2 separate regions of the Homo sapiens genome follow, and region 2 is linked to region 1. Evidence: promoter capture Hi-C in human tissues and cell types (Jung and others, 2019). All regions are on one chromosome and are shown on one strand. Each heading gives the region's core, a stretch centred on a gene start or on the middle of the fragment in contact. The rest is flanking DNA. Distances are from core to core; before and after follow the strand shown.

What was found. The method cuts DNA at HindIII sites, captures the fragments that hold promoters and counts their contacts. A contact is called where the count stands out against the background at its distance.
Region 2: a contact is called between a fragment that was not itself captured here and the fragment with the promoter of SDR42E1 in region 1, in 1 of the 25 tissues and cell types used here (dorsolateral prefrontal cortex).

Annotation. Positions count from the first base shown.
Region 1 is chr16:82,008,802-82,013,984 of GRCh38, reverse strand. It overlaps SDR42E1 (short chain dehydrogenase/reductase family 42E, member 1), which reads left to right and starts at 2,515. Exons shown (of 3, transcript NM_145168.3): 1 at 2,515-2,598. RefSeq lists enhancers at 2,171-2,250, 2,261-2,350 and a silencer at 2,591-2,740. The HindIII fragment of the contact is 11,252 bases long and covers 1-5,183 here.
Region 2 is chr16:83,441,114-83,446,296 of GRCh38, reverse strand. The region is part of intron 6 of CDH13 (cadherin 13); the gene reads right to left. Among named protein-coding and RNA genes, the nearest start is that of CDH13-AS1, 44 kb to the right of the region's middle. The HindIII fragment of the contact is 3,864 bases long and covers 1,038-4,901 here.

The DNA of each region.
Region 1 (5,183 bases), core at 1,266-3,765:
AGCCACCGCACCCGGCCAGAAGCCTTGGCTTTTAATCACAGGTCTGTCATTTACTAGTTCTGTGACCTTGGGTAAGTCACTTAAACTCACCTGATTTCCAGATGCAGTGTGGAACTATTACAAGGTTTCTCTTACCCACCTCAGAGAGTTGTAGTGCTACTACTACTAAGTCATAGCACTTTTAGGGCAGTGCTTATCAGCCTTTACTATACATAGGAATTACCTAGGGATTTTGCTGAATACAGATTTGTATTTATTAAGCCTAGAATGGGATCCAAGACCCAACATTTCTAATAAGCTCTCAGGTGATGTTGATGTTACTGATCCACACTTTTGGATAGCAAAGTTCTCATGTGCCTACCAAGCTCACAATAATTTCCGTTCTTTAGAAATGACCACAGTTTATAGCAGTTCTTGTGTCCTTTTGCCACAGCTGACAATGGTAGAGGTGATTTCTGATCCAAGCTGGGCCAAAAGAAGGTGTCGTTTGCAAGCCTGGGATTTTGAACAGGGACAACCAGAAATGTGACATATATTCATTTGCTGATTCATTCACCAGTAAAAAAAAAAAAAAAAAAAAAAAAAAAATTCTGTCTCTATGCCAGACACTATAGTAGGTAGTGGAGATACACCAATCAATCAAGCAGGTCTCTGCACTCACGGAGCTTTCATTATAGCAACATGCAAGATAATTTCAGATGAGCTAAGTGCTGTGAAGAGATTGAAGAATTTCAAGGGGATGCAGGAGACTTTAAGTGAAAGTGTTGGGGAAAGCCAAGCTCTTACTTCCTCTTCTGTAGTGACCTTGGCAGCCAAGAGTTGAACATGATGGCATAACAAATGGGGGAAGCCTGGGTCCCTGAGTGATTATGTGGAGCACAGCACTCTTCCCCTTCCCTGCAGACTGAATTGGACTGTGATCGGAGTGAGAAATAAAATACTGCACACCTGTGAGTAATTGTGACAGCAAACTGATCTTTCTGAGATGCATCCACTGCCTGGACATATTATTGGGGGAAGACAATACTAAACAAACACTGATATACAAACTCACATTGAAGTTAATTTCTTTCTCCAGTCATTTCTGTCTTAGATCTCTTGGTCAGACCTTTATAAAATCAACTCACTAAATTATGATGGAAGCTAAGGAAGCAATTATAGAGTTTGTAATTTTCCTTTAAAACACGCCTGATTATATTTTAAAAGAGTCCTCGGTGGCACAAGAATACTAACATTTAAATTCACCATTTCTCATGTTTATCCACACACTCTAAATCTGGGTATCCCTCAGAGGATCCTGTAATTCCCCAAAGGAAGTCTGTCTTCTTTACTGCATCCTCAGTGGGTCTTTTCTTCCTTAGCTGCTGGCCTCAAGAGCATATAGCTGGTCTCTCAGCCCCCTGAATACCCTTCCTCTTCTCTTCTAATTTTTATGTATCCTAAGCAGCCACTGCAAAGCTGTTCTTTAAGACTGCTTAGCACAAGAAGTCTCCTGTGACTTATGCCTGCCTAATAGGTGAGGACAAGACAGGCAGGAAAGCCAGAGCATCCTATGAGAGAGGCCAGTGCCAGGGACTGGCACTTCTTGATTTCTTCACCTGGGCTTCATTAATTTTTATATCCTAGGACTTGAGCTTTGTCCTTGTGACTGTGTGTGCTTAGTGAAAACTGAGCAGTAAATCAGGCAATTGATATGAACCTCTCTGAGTCTGCCTTTGGTACCAGATCTATCGGCAAGAGCACCACATGAAGTCAAAACTTCCATCCTCCAAGACACTAAAATGAAATCCTCCCCAGCCAGGGGTCCATTCCAGGATGCATGTCCATACACGTGTACAGTCTGCAACCATCCACAGAACCACACTCATGATGAGGAGACAAAAGATGGGCCTCAAAAGGAGACCTCTGAGTGAGGATGCCAACTTTCCTTTCTGCATTCCTTGGTTCCTTCAGCAACAAAGATTAGTCTTGGCATCACTGCCTGCTTGGCGACCAGAACAAAGAGAAATAAGGAAAATTAGGGACACAGGAAAACCTATGGGCACACATAGATATGGAAACTCAGAGATAATAGAAACTTAAAGAGATACATGGAGAGTGAATATTCTGCCTCCCTATAGAGCCTTTTCCATCATCCATCCACCCAAGCAATGCTGACCTGAGTGCCTATTTATCAGGCACTGGTCTTGGCCTTGGGGATAAACAAAGATGGAGGTGAAAGTCTAAAAGCAGACACTGGAGGTGGGAAGAGCAGTTGACGTGGCCCTAACAGGGTTCCCACCACGGCGGAACGCACAGACAGGGGACGTGGGGGAAGACGTGACCCTAAAAGGGTTCCCGCCACGGCGGAACGCACAGCCAGAGAACGTGGGGGAATTCATGAAGCGAACCTCCTGCTACCTCAACGCCGGTGAAGGTGAAGGAGACACCTGCGCGTCATAGAGACTCCGAGACCTCCAGGCTTCCTAGAGAGGCCCGGAAGTGGCTCCAGGAGGCAGGTCCGACGGCTTCGGCGCCCCAGCTGTGGTGATGGGTAGCTAGGAGGCCTGGGCCTCTCTGCCTGCTGTAGCCGTCTGCCGCGCCCTTGTTCCTGCAGCTGTGAGTGGGCCTGGGCTGGGGTTGGGGGGCCGCCGCCCTTCCGCGGGGACCCTGGACCGCCTCGGCCTGGAACGCGACAGGTGGCGGTCCCGGGGGTGGGGGACGGTGGTGAATGACTGAGCAGGGTGGCGGGAAGGAGTATCCCCTTTCAGATGTCTTCCTGATCCCAGGGGACCGGGCGCAGCTTGGCTTTCTAGAATGTCGCCAAGGCCTCAAACACTGGCCCTCCGCATTTTTTGTTTTTAAGGACATCGGGGCCCCAAGCTCCGAACTTTCCACAGGTGGCTGGCTATACTTGATTCCTGTCTTTGATTTTCTGCACACTTTGGGAGAACGATTACCTCCTCTTTATCACTTGGTTCTGGTTTGCCACTTAAAAGTGGCAGTGACAGGTTCCCATTTAAACTGCATGTATTTGTTGGGAAAAGGTAAGTAGGTTTAAACAAAACCTTATAGGCTAGTCATAATACCAGATGAATCAGATGTGACAGAAATTGTGGAGGTGGAGTGAGCCCTGAAAATCTGAGACGGGTCTCAGTTCATTTAGAAAGTTTATTTTGCCAAGGTTGAAGACATGTACCCATGACACAGCCTCAGGCGGTCCTGACGATGTATTCTTAATGTGGTCAGAGCCCAGTTTCGTTTTCTACATTTTAGGGAGACATGAGACAAGAACAGATGTAAGATGAACATGTTTTTCGGTCTGGAAAGGCGGGACAACTCGAAACGGGGAGGGGGCTTCCAGGTCATAGGTAGGTAAGAGACAAATGGTTGCATTATTTTGAGTTTGATTAGCCTCTCCAAAGGAAGCAATCAGATATGCCTTTATTTTAGTGAGCAGAGATACATGAATAGAATGGGAGGCAGGTTTGCCCTAAGCAGTTCTCAGCTTGACTTTTCCCTTTAGCTTAGTGATCTTGGGACCCCAAGATTTATTTTCCTTTCACAGTGATAAGATAATGACCTAAGCGAATCTGTATTGTCCCAGCCTTATTGTGCGGCATTACATGTAGTGGTTAAGAGTCATACAGACCCGGCTTCAAGTCCTGAACCCTGCCCAACCCCTTATGACCTGCATAATTTGTGGGCAAGGTTCCTAACCTCTGATCTATTTTCCTCATTTCTGAAAGCTGATGATAATACTAGTAACAACTTCGGAAGATTGTCCTGAGGCTTAAATGCTAAACCTTTAAACTACCTGTATTAATCCATTCTCATGCTGCTAATAAAAACATACCCAAGACTGGGTAATTTATAAAGTTAAGAGGTTTGATGGACTCACAGTTCCACATGGCTGGGGAAGCCTCATAATCATGCCAGAAGGCAAAAGAGGAGCAAAGTCACATCTTACGTCTTATATGGTGGCAGGCAAGAGAGCTTGTGTAGGGGAACTCCCCTTTATAAAACCATCAGATCTTTTGAGACTTATTCACTATCAAGAGAACGGCATGGGAAAAACCCACCCCTGTGATTCAGTTACCTCCCACTGGGTCCCTCCCAGGACACGTGGTAATTATGGGATCTACAATTCAAGGTGAGATTTGGGTGGAGACACAGCCAAACCATATCATTCCGCCCCTGGCCCCTCCCAAATCTCATGCCCTCACATTTCAAAACCAATCATGCCTTCCCAACAGTCCCACAAAGTCTTAACTCATTTTAGCATTAACTCAAAAGTCCACACTCCAAAGTCTCATCTGAGGCAAGGCAAGCCCCTTCCACCTATAAGCCTGTAAAATCAAAAGCAAGTTAGTTACTTCCTAGATACAATGGGGGTACAGGTATTGGGTAAGTATACTCATTCCAAAAAGGAGAAATTGGCCACAACGAAGGGGCTACAGGCCCCATGCAAGTCTAAAATCCAGCGGGGCAGTCACATCTTGAAACTCCAAAATGACCTCCTTTGACTCCGTGTCCCATATCCAGGTCATACTGATGCAAGAGGTGGTTTCCCATAGTCTTGGGCAGCTCCACCCTTGTGGTTTTGCAGGGTACAGCCCCACTTTTGGCTGCTTCCAGGGCTGGCGTTTAGTGTCTGCTGCTTTTCTAGGTGTACGGTGCAAGCTGTTGGTGGATCTACCATTCTGGGGTCTGGAGGATGGTAGCTCTCTTCTCACAGCTCCACTAGGCAGTGTCCCAGTGGGGACGCTGTGGGGTGGTTCCAACCCCACATTTCCCTTCCATGCTGCTCTAGCAGTGGTTCTCCATGAGGGCCCCACCCCTGCAGCCAACTTCTGCCTGGACATCCAGGAGTTTCCATACATCCTCTGAAACCTAGGGAGAGGTTTCCAAACCTCAGTTCTTGACTTCTGTGTACCCACAGGCTTAACACCGCATGGAAGTTTCCAAGGCTTGGGGCTTGCACCCTCTGAAGCCCCAGTTTGAGCTGTACCTTGGCCCGTTTTAGCCACAGCTGGAGCAGCTGGGACGCAGAGCACCAAGTCCCTAGGCTGCATAGAGCAGGGGGACCCTGGACCCAGCCCAGGAAACCATTTTTGCCTCCTAGACTTCTGGGCCTTTGGTAGGAGGGGCTGCCAAGAAGGTCTCTGACATGCCCTGGAGACATTTTCCCCATTGTCTTGATG
Region 2 (5,183 bases), core at 1,720-4,219, 1.4 Mb before region 1:
CAGTCTCACTCTGTCGCCCAGGCTGGAGTGCAGTGGCATGATCTCGGCTCACCGCAACCTCTGCCTGCTGGGTTCAAGCGATTCTCTTGCCTCAGCCTCCTAAATAGCTGGGATTACAGGCACATGCCACCATGCCTAGAAAATTTCTGTATTTTTTGTAGAGATGGGGTTTCACCACGTTGGCCATGCTGGTCTTGAACTCCTGACCTCCTGTAATCTGCCCCCCCACCTCAGCCTCCCAAAGTGCTGGGATTACAGACCTGAGCCACAGCACCTGACCTTCCTCATGTTTTTCTATACCCAATAAAAAAGTTTGATGGGGGAGGGATGGGGATAATGCTTTAGAAATCTTTTAGTTGCCTTTTTGAGTCAAGAGGCACAAAGATCTCTGAACTGTCTGTTGTTCGGCGTGGTTTGTAGGAATCATCTTCCTCCTACTTCAGTATCTCCCCAAGTACCTACTTGAGGAAGACTGGGAACTCCGAGTTATATTTCCAAGCTAAACACTTCTCCCCCTACCTTAGGACAAGTTTTAGATGCTTATCAGATCTTCTAACTGAATTCTGGAAATCTCAGCTATTCCAGTTTTACTTAGCCACGTGATGAAAACATCTATTCAGAATTCTAAAAGCAAAAAAGGTGGAGAAAGAAAAAACATGATGGTCTTTATCGCTAACAAAATGTGCAGAGAGAAATTAAAGCCAAGTGTGAAAGTTCCTTGCTATCTTCTGGTTGCGCCTTTGTGGAATACTAACGCAGCTGTGGGAGGCTATCGGTCCAGAATCTTGGCTTCCTCCACCCTGCAGCCAGGTGATAAAGCTCCTCCTTAATGACCCAGAAGCCTGAGGAAATTGAGGCCAAGTGTGAACACAGCAGGATCTGATTTTCTAGGCCAGAAATTCATTTTAGGGAAAACTTAGGAAGCTTTTCTGAAATAACTTTTCTTCTTTTGTAGAAGAATGATTCGGGTAGGTGAAAATGATGCAAACCTTTTATAATTTATAAAACCTTTTATAAATTATAAAAGCTTTTATAAATTATAAAAGCTTTTATAAATTATAAACTCTCGCAGCCTCAGTTTCCTCAGCTGCAAAATGGGAAAACTATTACTCAAATGTCAGTGTTGTATGAGGATTAAATGAGAGAGTAGTAGCTGGCATGGAAGGAGGTCACACCTGTGAGTTTATTCAGACTCCACTGCCATGAAAAATATCAAAAATTAAGAATATAAATAATCCCTGAAAGGCAAAGTCTTAATTAACTAGCATGGCCTCATTTGAAAAAAATCCCAGCCCTGTGGTTTCTGAATATGGATAAACAATGCCATCCTTTCTTAAGAGCTTTAATTTCCTACCTGCAACGTGGGAACAGAGGCATTTTGGTCCATTTTTGGAGTCTTCCGTGAACTCCCCCTTCATCAGAGGAAAGCGCTGATTTGCTGATTTGCTGATTTGGGGAATTTTATACCTTCAGGCAAAACCAACCATGAGAATATTTTCATTTCGAACAGAATATTATGAATGAAATAAATTAACTCGGCAGTCAGAGATTTAAGCTGGTTTCAGCACACTGCCCCACAAAGATCTGCCATGCTACCCAAAACATTATACTCCAGCTCGCCAGTTACTATTATTAAAAACAGCATCACCGGAGGGACATGAGCAATGATGGCCCTGAAAATTCCTTGGGCACTATGACTGGCTCTTCACAAGAGAGGACATGGTTCTGGTGCTCAGTGACTGGGTTGTAAAGCCTGGTTCTGCCACTCATCAGGTGGGTGCCCTTGAGCACATTACTCAACCTCTGGGTCAAGATTTTAAAAAATCTTTCCAGGTGATTCTAATGTATAGCAAAATTTAAGAAGTATTGTCCTTGAGCAAGTTCCTTACCGAGTTTAAACTTCAGTTTCAATATCTTTAAAATGGGAAAATCACAGCATGTACTTCATGTGATGGTGCTGAAGATTAAATAAGATAATGAACACTCAGGGCTTAAGTGCTTAACATATCTGTTACCTAGCAAGGGTTCAATCAATGTAAGCCTCTACCATCATCGTCATCATCATCATCATTACTATGGTCATCATTATCATCATCATCATTGTCATCACTGTTGCCATCATCACCATCACCATCATCATCTTTGTCACATCAGCAGCCACATCTTCATTGTTGCTATTGGTATCTTCACCATCATCAACCTCACTATTGTCATCTTTGCCATGATGATCATCACAGTCATCATCAGCCCATCATCATCACCATGATCATCGCCATCACCTTCACCACCGTCTTTGCCATCATCATCATAATCAACACCATCACCTGACTCTATAGGAGGTACCATTGATTTTTTTTTTTTTTTAGAAACGGTTTCCTCTGTTGCCCAGGCTGGAGTGCAGTGGTGCAGTCTTGGCTCACTGCAGTCTCAACCTCCTGGGCTCAAATGATCCTCCCACCTCAGCCTCCTGAGTAGCTGGGACTACAGGCACATGCCACCAAGCCTGGCTTGCTCTCGCTCTCTCTTTCTCTCCATATATATATATATATATATATATATATTTTTTTTTTTTTTTTTTTTTTTTTTTTTTTCGTAGGGACTTCGCACTCTGTTGCCCAGGCTGGCCTCAAATTCCCAGGCTCAAGTGGTCCTCCTGCCTCAGCCTGCCTAAGTGCTGGGATTACAGGTGTGAACCACCAGCCCAGTCTGACACTGATTCCTTTAGGAAGACTAGAGTGCTTTATACTCAACATGATAATCTTGAATTCCTGATTCTGCTTTTAGTACTTCAGAAAAAGTGAGGGGCTAGTAACCCGTAAAAATTCTCTAGACATTTTGATTAAATTCTATTTAGGTCAAAAATGTATAAATCAAACCTTTTCGTAACATTCAACACGCACTGAGAATGTGCTCCTAATGATGGTCCTGTCTGTGGGTGCAGTGCTCCAAGCTCACTCCTTAGATTCTTTCACTCATACCTGAACACCTGTTGCGGAAGGGCCTCCCAGCCTCTTTCTCAGAGGCGTGGCCTCCCCAGGGGTGAAGCAGCAAAAACGCAGCTAGAACTCCATCCACCATTCTAAGCATCACTGTGGGAGTAAGTCACCCACCCTATCACATTCTCAGCTTCAAATAAATTCCTTTCTGCGTTTGGCATGGAAGGTGATAAGTATTTTCTGAGCGATTTTTCAGTTGCAAACTTCAGTCTGCTGAGATGAAATATGCAGATTGAGGTCTGAACAGCTGTAGCACTGCAGAGTGGCTGGTATTTTGGTGGGCTTTATTTTAAAGTCTTTGAGAGTTCAATCTCACTAAATAATTCAGCTGTTTAGGAAAAGCCATATGATCTTAAAATAAGTCCCTGAAGGTCAAGCATATAGGGTGAAATTTTATTTTTCAGTAAATAATAGCATTTGACAAAATAACAGAAATGTCCCTTATAGTATCTCTTCCTTTACATCTTTGAATGAAATTACCAAGTGCACATCACTGGATGTTCATTTATAAACATTTTACATCTTCTCCATGCCTTTCTGGCAGAGTATTAAGGTAACATTCTGATATCACTGTTCCCAATGAAGTTAGAGATTCTAAAGAACAATTTCAAAATGCAGCCCTAACTTGGGATGTCACTGATCACTTGGAAAGTCGTTTGTTACATCTAGTCCAGAAAAATATAAGCTTCTTGTCATAGAAAGGCTGAAGTATTGACTATAAATCTATAAAGAAAAAGAAAAAAAAAACTTGCAATGTGAAAGTTTTCCAGGTCAAAGCTGGATCTCTCTCATCCATCACTGAGTTCTCCAAGGTGACATGCAATTCAGGAGAAAAGCATCAGCATCCAGAAAGATACTGGCCAAGGATGTCTTTGTGCTCTTTAATGATGGGTCTTTGGCTGAATCACCAGACTGGTAGCTTTGGAATAGCTGCTCATGGAGGTGGGAGGCAGGATGTGGAGGTCCTTGGATAAATCTCATCTAGATTCACATAGAATCCTGCACTCGTCAAGGCTGATGGGATCCTGAAGTTCATCTACCTCAAATACCTTCTTGTCTCATTTTACGGATGAGGTAACTGAGGCCCAGGGAAAATAAACGATAGGTGCCCATTAAGGCACTCAGTGAATAATAAACCCAGAGCTAAGACGCAGGTGGCATTGGAGGAGCATGGTGATAACCATGCTTTGCGTCAGAGTTGGCCTGTGTGTTCCTCCGGTCCGACTGCAAGTACAGGCATGGCTATTTTGCTTGTGGACAAAAAAGACTCTGTCATCTCGCTCCCAGCTCTTATGGTGTGACCTGGGCCAAATCATTCAAACCCTCTCAATCCCAGCCTCCTTATAGATAAAGCCCTCTTAATAATCCCTACCTCATAGGGATGTTGTATCAATGAACTTCTATATTTAAAAATATCCTGAACAAAGCCTCGTATACACATTCATGAATTCATGCCCTCTGATGCCCTGAAACATTTCCTTTTGGAGTAGAGTATAGGGTCCAGAGCTGAATCATCATCACATTTACTCATAGGGCTCCACCAGGTACTCTCTCTCTTCCCAGACACCGTTTCTATCCGGGTTCAGGGAAATGAAGTCATTTCACTGTCACAGAGCTAACTGACATCTTGGTGGCAGCTGTGAGTCATAAACCGTATCAGGAAAAGCAGGAGCTGGGCTTCTCACAGCTTGCAAAAGCTGCCCAACTCTAAGGAATGGCATGCAAAAAAATGTTGTAAAGAAACTTTCCTCATTTATCATAAAAACTGTTAATGTTCCTTTTTAAACATTAAGAAAATATCACTGACCAAAAATTGGGAAAATTAAAACCATCCCTAATTCTACCAATCGGGGAAAGTCACTGTTAATATTTGGTAGGAACATAAGTTTTACATACATTTAACATAGATATAGATTAAGCTGATGTTCTAGAGCTTGTATTTTGCCAATTGTAAATGTATTGTGTTTTTCCCAAGTAATTGAATTGTCATCTTTCAAATGGATATACAGTATTCCATCACTCTTATTATTTCATTACCAGAGTGGTACTCAAAGTATTGAACAACAGGTAGAGATTGAGTGCCAACAAATGACAGGCGAGAGGAGTCTCTGGAAGATCCATCCACAGTCGACCAGATGACTACTGACCCTGGCTGTGCCATAATTTAATTATTTTCTTATTCAAAAC